Regions from separate parts of the Homo sapiens genome. Here region 2 is linked to region 1. The links are contacts of gene promoters, found by promoter capture Hi-C in human tissues and cell types (Jung and others, 2019). All regions are on one chromosome and are shown on one strand. The core of a region is centred on a gene start or on the middle of the fragment in contact, and the rest is flanking DNA. Distances in the headings are between cores, read along the strand shown. Region 1 holds the start of PRSS21 (serine protease 21). Region 2 overlaps FLYWCH1 (FLYWCH-type zinc finger 1).

Evidence for each region. Contacts are between HindIII fragments. The study calls those that stand out against the background at their distance.
Region 2: a fragment that was not itself captured here is called in contact with the fragment with the promoter of PRSS21 in region 1 in 7 of the 25 tissues and cell types used here (H1 embryonic stem cells, IMR-90 fibroblasts, heart left ventricle and 4 more).

Annotation. Positions count from the first base shown.
Region 1 is chr16:2,814,114-2,819,218 of GRCh38, forward strand. PRSS21 (serine protease 21) reads left to right here and starts at 3,124. Exons shown (of 6, transcript NM_006799.4): 1 at 3,124-3,219; 2 at 3,317-3,343; 3 at 3,688-3,853; 4 at 4,564-4,856. The coding sequence starts at 3,156. RefSeq lists an enhancer at 826-1,326 and silencers at 2,992-3,271, 3,382-3,441. The HindIII fragment of the contact is 10,567 bases long and covers 1,476-5,105 here.
Region 2 is chr16:2,918,765-2,923,869 of GRCh38, forward strand. All of the region lies in intron 2 of FLYWCH1 (FLYWCH-type zinc finger 1), which reads left to right. It also overlaps the pseudogene RPL23AP86. Among named protein-coding and RNA genes, the nearest start is that of FLYWCH1, 9.4 kb to the left of the region's middle. The HindIII fragment of the contact is 4,857 bases long and covers 1-4,819 here.

The DNA of each region.
Region 1 (5,105 bases), core at 1,874-4,373:
CACAGGGAGTGGGCAGCGGAGTCCCTCTCAGGAGGAGCCTCCTTCAGGGAGGTGGAGGTGGAAGAGGCCAAGCCCTTGGCCAGCACAGCTCTCAGAGGCAGGAGCTTGGAGGTGCCACAAAGCGGGCTGTGTTCTCGCGCTAGCCCAGCCTAAGGGCACCTTTCCATGTTTTGTTTTGTTTTGTTTTTTGTTTTTTTTTTTTTTTTAAACACGGACTCTCGCCCTCTCACCCAGGCTGGAGTGCAATGGTGCGATCTCGGCTCACCGCAACCTCTGCCTCCCAGGTTCAAATGATTCTCCTGCCTCAGCCTCCAGAGTAGCTGAGATTACAGGTGCCCACCACCATGCCCAGCTATTTTTTGTACTTTTAGTAGAGACAGGATTTCACCATGTTGGCCAGGCTGGTCTCGAACTCCTGAACTTGTGATCCATCCGCCTCGGCTCCCCAAAGTGCTGGGATTACAGGCTTGAGCCATGGCACCCGACCTGTCTTTCCATGTTTTGCTGGCAGTTCAGGGGCCTTCTTTCTAACTCCAGGCTGACAGGGTTTGGCGCCCAGAAGGAGAGTCACTTGGGCCAGGACTCCAGAAGCACCAGCTGAGGTTGAGGGGACTTGGTGGAAGGGATAGTTAGCAGCCTGGCCAGAGGGGCGCCAGGACTCACCCAAATGCACACTGGAGGGGATGTTCAGATGGCACGAGAACGGGGATCACACATGGTCGTTCACACACGTGCACTTGAAGATGCATGCACACACATACACCCAGACACACACACCCGCCCAGCCTCTCCTGCACGCAGGGGGCATGCACACACGAGGACGCTCCTCACCTGCATGCCTGACCTGGGGAAGAAGCCCACCTGGTGGGAGGCACCCTCCTCCCACCCTCCATCTGCCATGGCCCAAGTGCTGGCCCCGAGCCCGTGCCCAGGGAGACTCAACACAGGCCCTTTGTCCCTTGGGATCAGGGCTCCCAAGAGAGGGATTTACTGAGCATTTATTTCCTGCCCCGGGCACGCCCCAGTCCTCATTCTGCCAGGAGAAGGGAACAATGAGGCCTTCTCCTGCCCGCAGAGGTGGCTCCGGGCCGGCTGGCCCTTATGTGTCAGGAGTCGGGTTAGGACCACAAGTCCCTGTCCTCCCTGCCCTCCAGGTGTGGGGCTTGGGAAGACCCCTCTGTGACTCTGCAGCCTGAGGCACAGCAGACAAGAGAGTCTCCATCTGCAGCCCATGCAGCAGCCAGGGCCTCCCTGCAGCCCCCGGGCCAGGCTTGGCCTCTGCGGGAAGCCCCCAGCCTCACTGGAGGCAAGAACCTGAGTCCCTGGCTCAGATCTCCGGGTAGGACTGGCCTGACTGAGACCCTGGGCAAAACCAGGAGCTGACACCTCCTAGGGGCCTCAGCGGATCCCTGGGACTCAGGAACCAGAGGGAACGTCCTGCTGGCTGGGAGAGGGGCAGGATCAGAAGCCCAGGGACCTTTGCCCCAACCCAGCAGGCCAAGGCCAGGCTGTGCATGTGACTTGTCCTTGAGCAGCTGCTGCTGGGGAAGGAGGCCCTGAGGGAAGGCACCGCAGCCTTGTGCTCCTGAAACCCGAAGCTCCCACACACCCGCTGCGCCCTCATTGAGTTCCCGTTGGTACCATGCTCTGTGCTAAGCATTTTATCTGTACTTTCCCCAAAGAAACTTAATACTTTTATTGGAAAACCAGAACGCCTAACCACACATTTTGCCTAATCTTTCATGTAATTAACCTTCCACTAGTGCAAGTGTTGAAAGTAGAATACGCTATTCCCAAGTTTCAAGTTGAGGGAGGCGGGATTCCCAGGTTCTGGTTGTACATTCCCATTTTCACTGATCTGTTCAGTGGTCAATGGATTCTTGGGTTGCTTTCATGTCAGCTACTGTGAATAATCCTGCTATGAACATGGGTATACAAATATCTCTTGAAGGCTGGGTGGGGTGGCTCACACCTTCACCCTGGCACTTTGGGAGGCCGCAGAGGGCAGATCACCTGAGGTCAGAAGTTCAAGACCAGCCTGGCCAACATGGCGAAACCCCATCTCTACTAAAAATACAAAAATTAGCTAAGCATGGTGGCAGGTGCCTCTAATCCCAGCTACTCTGGAGGCTGAGACAGGAGAATCACTTGAACCCAGGAGGCAGATGTTGCAGTGAGCCAAGATCGCACCACTGCACTCCAGCCTGAGCGATGGAGCAAGACTCCATCTCAAAAACAAACAAAACTAAATCCCCCCAAAAAACCAAAAACAAATATCTCTTGAAGACCTTCCTTTCAGTTCTTTTGGGTGTATGCTCAGAAGTGGAATTGCAGCTGGGCGCGGTGGCTCATGCCTGTAATCCCAGCACTTTGAGAGGCCGAGGTGGGCGGATTACCTGAGGTCAGGAGTTGGAGACCAGCCTGGTTAACATGGCGAAACCCCGTCTGTACTAAAAATACAAAAATGAGCCAGGTGTGCTGGCGCGCGCCTGTAACCCCAGCTACTTGGGAGGCTGAGGCAGGAGAATCGCTTGAACCCAGGAGGTGGAGGTTGCAGTGAGCTGGGATCACGCCAATGCACTCCAGCCTGGGCGACAAGAGCGAAACTCCATCTCAAAAAAAAAAAAAATTGTTCCAGAGAAGTGAAGAGAGCCCAGCGGGAGCCCGCAGTGGGGACAGCCTGGGCAGAGACTTGGGGAGATCCCCATTCTGGGTGGAACGGGCCGAGGACCACTGTTTTCCCAAGAAGGTCCCATGAAGGAGCAGCCATGCCTCTAGGCCCCACCCGGCCTTCAGGGGGTCCCCAGGCTTTAAGGGGACTCCTGGCTCAGGGCCAGGCCCTTGGTGCTGGAGGAGGTTGTAGGTGGAGGACGGGGTCACCAAGAGGGCAGCCGGGACCCCTGGGCTGCAGACAAGAAAGGGACTGTGGGGTCCACCGGGTCTGGGCCACATCAAGAAGTGTGGTTGAAGACCCGCCCCTAGGGGCTGAAAGCCAGGGCGCTGCCAGGCATGAGAGGCCCCAAACAGCCCTTGGGCCCAGGAGGGTGAAGCTGGGAGTAGAGGGCAGAGCTCCCACCCCGCCCCGCCCCCAGGGGGCGCCCCGGGCCCGGCGCGAGAGGAGGCAGAGGGGGCGTCAGGCCGCGGGAGAGGAGGCCATGGGCGCGCGCGGGGCGCTGCTGCTGGCGCTGCTGCTGGCTCGGGCTGGACTCAGGAAGCCGGGTGAGCTCGGGGCGCTGCTGGCGGGATGGGGAGGCGGGGGAGCGGTGGGGAGGACGGGAGGTGGAGGCCGCGGGGAGTCACTTCTTGTCTCCCGCAGAGTCGCAGGAGGCGGCGCCGTTATCAGGTAGGGCGCCCAGGACGCGCGATTCCTGCCAGGGCCGTTGGGCCGAGGTGGACGGGGGGCGGTGAGGGGGTAGAGGGGGGCCTTTACTGCTCTCTCGCCCCCGCCCCCGGGATCGAGAACTCTGTTGGCGTGGAAAGTAACTAACGGACGCTGGAGGGGGATGGGCGGGCCCTGCAGAGCACGTGGGAGGATCTCCAGTGTCACCTACTTCCTGCTGCACACACGCGAGGGGACCCTGGGTGGGCAAAAACGTGCTTTCCCGGACGGGGTTGAAGGGGAGAAAGGGAGAGGTCGGGCTTGGGGGGCTGCCTCCCGCGGCTCAGCAGTTCCTCTGACCATCCGAGGACCATGCGGCCGACGGGTCATCACGTCGCGCATCGTGGGTGGAGAGGACGCCGAACTCGGGCGTTGGCCGTGGCAGGGGAGCCTGCGCCTGTGGGATTCCCACGTATGCGGAGTGAGCCTGCTCAGCCACCGCTGGGCACTCACGGCGGCGCACTGCTTTGAAACGTGAGTGGGGGTGCGAACGGAGGGGTGCGGGGACGGGCAGGAACAGGGCTGGAGGGAGTGCCACCGAACTTTACCTCTGGTCTGATGCCAGACTTGGGCGTGAAAGTTGTGCGTGGATGCGGCCTGGTGTTCTCCTGAGCCCCAGGCTGTGCTGCAGCCGGTTACACCCACTCCAGTTCCCTTTGGGTCTCCTGGAGGGAACCCTGTTCAGGTTATTCCAGAATGTTCTTCCAGAACATTTCCACACACTTTTGGGTATTCTCTCCCTTTTTCTTTCAACCCAAAGTTCACCACTGACCATCCCACCCTCATCCCCCCTCCTGGTGGACGGTGCGGTACAGTGTGGGGCACTGAGCCAAGGCCAGCACCCCCGGGCCGCTGTGTGGACTCCATCCTGCCAATCCCACATTGGCGTGGTGCATCTCCCCATTCCTCCTTGGGCTGCATGGGGGTGCCCCTGGAGGCCTTGGCTCAATGCAAGGCTCCTTGGGACAGCTCTGGGAGGTGACAAGACCCCACCCTTCTGCTGCAGGAGCAGGTCCTAGGACTTTGGTTGTGGTCTGTCTGGGCTCCTTCATTTCTGCAGGGGACCCTGGGTGTTAGCAAGTAGCAGCAACACCACAGTTTCCCCTCCTGCACTGGACCCCAGTTGTGCTCAGGTAGCCAGCCCTCCATCCAGGGCCCCTGACTGCTCTCTTCTCTTCTGCCAGCTATAGTGACCTTAGTGATCCCTCCGGGTGGATGGTCCAGTTTGGCCAGCTGACTTCCATGCCATCCTTCTGGAGCCTGCAGGCCTACTACACCCGTTACTTCGTATCGAATATCTATCTGAGCCCTCGCTACCTGGGGAATTCACCCTATGACATTGCCTTGGTGAAGCTGTCTGCACCTGTCACCTACACTAAACACATCCAGCCCATCTGTCTCCAGGCCTCCACATTTGAGTTTGAGAACCGGACAGACTGCTGGGTGACTGGCTGGGGGTACATCAAAGAGGATGAGGGTGAGGCTGGGGACAGGCGGGTCAGGGAGGAACTGTCTTTGTTCACCTGTTCCCCTGCATAGGCACAATAGCCCCCTGCTTGGTCTGGGGGTGCAGGCTATGCCCCTCTTGCTTGCAGTCTCTCCTCACCTGCCAGGGCAGGGACCAAACACCCAGTTCTCTCCCTTCCAGGGGCTGTGGGGGCCAGAAGGAGAGTGTGAGAGGGAGGCCAGTTTGGCGCAGGCCTGTGGGTGGTGCGGTGGTGGAGGG
Region 2 (5,105 bases), core at 1,141-3,640, 100 kb after region 1:
TGTAAAATAAAATTCGCCAATGAATAACAAATATGACCAGAATAGAAAGGAAATAGTAGGAAAGACCAGTGGATTGAGGGCTAGAACGTAGTGTCTTGTCCAAGTAATATTTTGGTCTTTTTTGGAAACAAAAACTTGTTTAGAAAGATAGTCTTTACTGAATTTGTTAATTGGATTTTGCTTTCTTTTTTTTTCTTTTTTGAGGCAGAGTCTCCCTCTTTTGCCCAGGCTGGAGTGCAGTGGCATGATCTCGGCTCACTGCAACCTCCAAAGCAATTCTTCTGCCTCCACCTCCCAAGTAGCTGGGATTACAGGTGCTCACCACCACTCCTGATTAATCTTTTGTGTTTTAGTAGATGTTATCCAAGGTGGTCTCGATCTCCTGACGTTGTGATCCACCCACCTCAGCCTCCCAAAGTGCTGGGATTACAGGCGTGAGCCACCACACCCAGCTGCTCTCTGATATATGCGTGTATATTTATTCATTTGTTTTAATTTTTTGTTTCTTTTTTTTTTTTTGAGACGGAGTCTTGCTTTGTCTCCCAGGCTGGAGTACAGTGGTATGGTCTCGGCTCACTGCAACCTCTGCCCCCTGGGTTCAAGCGATTCTCCTGCCTCAGCCTCCCGAGTAGTTGGGATTACAGGCATGCGCCACCACACCCAGCTAATTTTTGTATTTTTAGTAGAGACGGGGTTTCACCATGTTTGCCAGGATGGTTTCGATCTCTTGACCTCGTGATCCGCCTGCCTTGGCCTGCCGAAGTGCTGGGATTACAGGCGTGAGCCACCGCGTCTGGCCTATTTTTTGTTTCTTGAGATGGGGTCATGTGATGTTGCCCAGATTGGCTTCAAACTCCTGGGCTCAAGCCATTTTCCTGCCACAACCTCCCAAGTGGCTGGGACTACACATACGCACCACCATGCCCAGCTCGAAGTACTACTTTTTGTAAATATAACATTTTGGAAATCCTCTTGAATTTTTTTTCCAACTTGGAAAAATTTCCAAATTCTTGTTTGAAAACATTGCCACCCGTGTAATTTTACCAAGGCAATAGGAACATTTCAGGAGCAACACCACCATCTTGTGGCCATATGGAGTATTGCTGCTGAGGATTTAAATTTGCGCTTCCCCCGTGACGGGTGGTCCTGCCTTATGTAATGGTCCTTTGGAAAGACTCCAGGTGGCCTCTGGTGGGGGCTTCCTGCTCTCGAGGGGGATACAGTAGCAGACATGATTGAACGCAGTGTGTGCTACAGAAAAGCAAGCGCCTTAAAGGCATTAGTTCAACAATGGAAGTAGTTGTGCATTTGAGTGGCAGGATTAGGGGTCATTTTAGTATTATAGTCTTAACATTCTGAAATAGTTTCTATATATTTTTAGAATATGATATTAGAACTTAGAAAATTTCACAACATATAATGCATGCCACCCCTTCTTTGATGAGTAAACCAAACCCAAGAACAAGAAGCTTCTGATGTTTAGTAGAGCACCTGTAATCCCAGCACTTTAGGAGGCAGGTAGGTAACTAGAGGCCAGGAGTTCGAGACCAGCCTGGCCAAAATGGTGAAACTCCATCTCTACTAAAAATACAAAACAAAATTTAGCCATGTGTGGTTTCAGGTGCCTATAATCCCAGCTACTCAGGAGGCTGAGGCCTGAGAATCGCTTGACCCAGGAGGCGGAGGTTGCAGTGAGCTAAGATTACGCCATTGCACTCCAGCCTGGGTGGCCGTGAGACTCTGTCTTAAAAAAAAAAAAAAACACTTTTCCACCAAGAGACCCTTGGAATCTGAGTCATTCTGACCATTGTTTGTTTGTTTGTTTTTGTTTTTTTGAGATGGAGTTTTGCTCTTGTTGCCCAGGCTGGAGTGCAATAGCGTGAGCTCCTGCCTCAGCCTCCCGAGTAGCTGGGATTGCAGGCATATGCCACCATGCCTGGCTATTTTTGTATTTTTAGTGGAGACGGGGTTTCTCCATGTTGGTCGGGCTGGTCTCAAACTCCCCACCTCAGGTGATCTGCCCACCTTGGCCTCCCGAAGTGCTAGGATTACAGGCGTGAGCCACAACGCCTGGCCTTTTTTTTTTTTTTTTTTTTTGAGACAGTCTCACTCTGTCGCCCAGGCTGGAGTGCAGTGGCGCGATCTCAGCTCACTGCAACCTCTGCCTCCCGGGTTCAAGCGATTCTTCTGCCTCAGCCTTCCGAGTAGCTGGGACTACAGGCGCCCGCCACCACGCCCAGTTAATTTTTTGTGTTTTTAGTAGAGACGGGGTTTCACTGTGTTAGCCCGGATGGTCTCGATCTGCTGACCCCGTGATCTGCCCGCCTCGGCCTCCCAAAGTGCTGGGATTACAGGCGTGAGCCACCATTCCCAGACAGGGATTGTTTTTCAATAACTTTCCTGAGATATAATTTACATAATACCATATGATTTCTCCATCTAAAGTCTACAATTCATTGCTTTTAATATATTCAGAAAGCTGTCCAAGTATCACCACCATCAATTTTAGGACTTTTTAAGTCTACAATTCATTGCTTTTAATATATTCAGAAAGCTGTCCAAGTATCACCACCATCAATTTTAGGACTTTTTTTTTTTTTGCTTCTAAAGCCAGAGGGAGGATGGTTGCTCCCTTTCTCTGGACAGGGAAGCGGGTGAGAAGAGCTTATAGAGGCATCCATCCGGTGCTTGGGAGGCTGAGGTGGGAGGATCGCTTGATCCCAGGAGTTCAAAACCAACCTGGAAATATAGCAAGACCCTGTCATTACCAAAATATTTTTTTTTAATTTAATTAAAAAACCAGGCTGGGCAACCTGGCAAAACCCCGTCTCTACAAAGAATACAGAAATTAGCCGGGCATGGTAGTGTGCGCCTGTGGTCCCAGCTACTCTGGAGGCTGAGGTGGGAAGATGGCTTGAGCCTGGGAGGCAGAGGCTGTAGTGATCACGCCACCACACTCCGGTTTAGGCTGTAGTGAAATCCTGCCACTAAAATAAAAAATAAAAGGTATTCATTCTGGCCGGGTGTGGTGGCTCACACCTGTAATCCCAGCACTTTGGGAGGCCAAGACAGGCAGATCATGAGGTCGGAAGTTCGAGACCATCCTGGCCAATATGGTGAAACCCCATCTCTACTAAAAAATACAAAAATTTGCTAGGTGTGGTGGCGCGCGCCTGTAGTCCCAGCTACTCAGGAGGCTGAGGCGGGAGAATCACTTGAACCCGGGAGGCAGAGGTTGCAATGAACTGAGATCGTGCCACTGCACTCCTGCCTGGGCAACTGGGTGACAGAGTTAAAAAAAAGAATCCATCTTAAATGGGTACATTTTGAATCAGATAAAAATCATATTCTGAATCATGGCGGGATAACTTTAGTTACTAGAAAATCTACCTTGTAGGGAGAAGCTTATTCACTGATAATGTTAGGGAAATGGGGTGTTTTGTGTATAGTTTGTTACAGATGGCTCGTGTGTGTGTGTGTGTGTGTGTGTAGGGTTAAATATACATGACGTAAAATTTACCATATTGGTCATTCATGTAAATTGCATCCTACAACCCTTGGTCTTTGTGAGCAGCTGCTCTCCCTGAGCCTCGATGTTGAAGTGTCCAGGTCAGCGGTTCACATTCATTGTTCATCCGTCACCACCGTCCATCTCCAGAACCTTTTCATCTTCCCCAACGGCTGCTCTGTGCCCATGAAACACTCCCTCCTCATCCTCCTGCCCCTGGCACCCCCATTCTACTTTCTGTCCCCATAAGTTTGACTGCCCTGGGGACCTCATACAAGTGGAATCAGACAGTGTTTGTCCCCTTGTGCCTGGCATGTCGTATGTTGCAGATTTTTTTATGGTGAAAAGATATACATATATTTAGAATTAGCCAGCCGGACTCGGTTTACATGATCTCCATTTTGTTGGCCACACCCAAAGCATCCTGATCAGGAGCCAGTGGAACATGTGCCTTCTTCTCTCCATCAGGCCCAATCAGGGTATTGACCTGGGCCACAACCACCTCACAGAGTTCTTCACAGCCTGTTTGAGCTGGTGCTTGTTGGCTTTAACATCCACAGTGAAGACAAGTGTGTTGTCTTCTGTCTTCTTCATGGCAGACTCAGTGGTCGGTGGAAAATTGATGATCGCATAGTGGTCAAGCTCGTTTCTCCTGGGGGCGCTCTTCCGAGGATATTTGGGCTGCCTCCGGAGTCGCAGTGTCTTGGGCTGCCAGAAGGCGGGTGACGCGCGGATCTTTTTTTGGGGGGGCTGTTGTGTGGATCTTTTTTTGTGTGTGTGTGGCTGTTGTGCGGATCTATTTTTTTTATAGTTTGTTTTGTGTGTGTGGCTGTTGTGAGGTTCTTTTTTTGTGTGGCTGTGGACGCCTTTCAACGCTGCCGCCTTGGCCTTTAAAGCCTTTGCTTTGGCTTCAGCTTTACAAGGGGCAGGAGCTCCCTTCTTCGCTTTCAGCGCCATCTTGTGAAGAGGCTGTTTTTGTTTATTTTTATTTTTGAAATGGAGTCTCGCTCTGTCGCCCAGGCTGGAGTGCAGTGGTGCGATCTCTGCTCACTGCAACCTCTGCCTTCTGGTTCAAGCGATTCTCCTGCCTCAGCCTCTCGAGTAGTTGGGATTACAGGCGTCCGCCACCACGCCCGGCTAATTTTTGTATTTTTAGTAGAGACGGGCTTGCCTATGTTGGCCAGGCTGGTCTCGAACTCCTGACCTCAGGTGATCCGCCCGCCTCAGCCTCCCAAAGTGCTGGGATGGCAGGCGTGAGCCACAGCGCCCGGGCAGTGCAGATGTTTTAAAATGCATACTTCTCCTTTGCTGTCCCTTATACTTCATATTTTTGTTTCCCTCGTTACAAGCCATTTATATGCACCCATCTGGGGGATGTGGTGTTTGTGTTGCACAGCATATGGCAATCTGGAGCTCACACATAGTTTTATGTCAGATATTTCATAACCGTTTGCATTATTCCATCTATTAAAAAGCCAGAATCGGCCCGGCGTAGTGGCTCACACCTGTAATCCCCGCACTTTGGAAGGCTGAGGCGGGTGGATCACTTGAGGTCACGAGTTCGAGACCAGCCTGACCAACATGGTGAAACCCCATC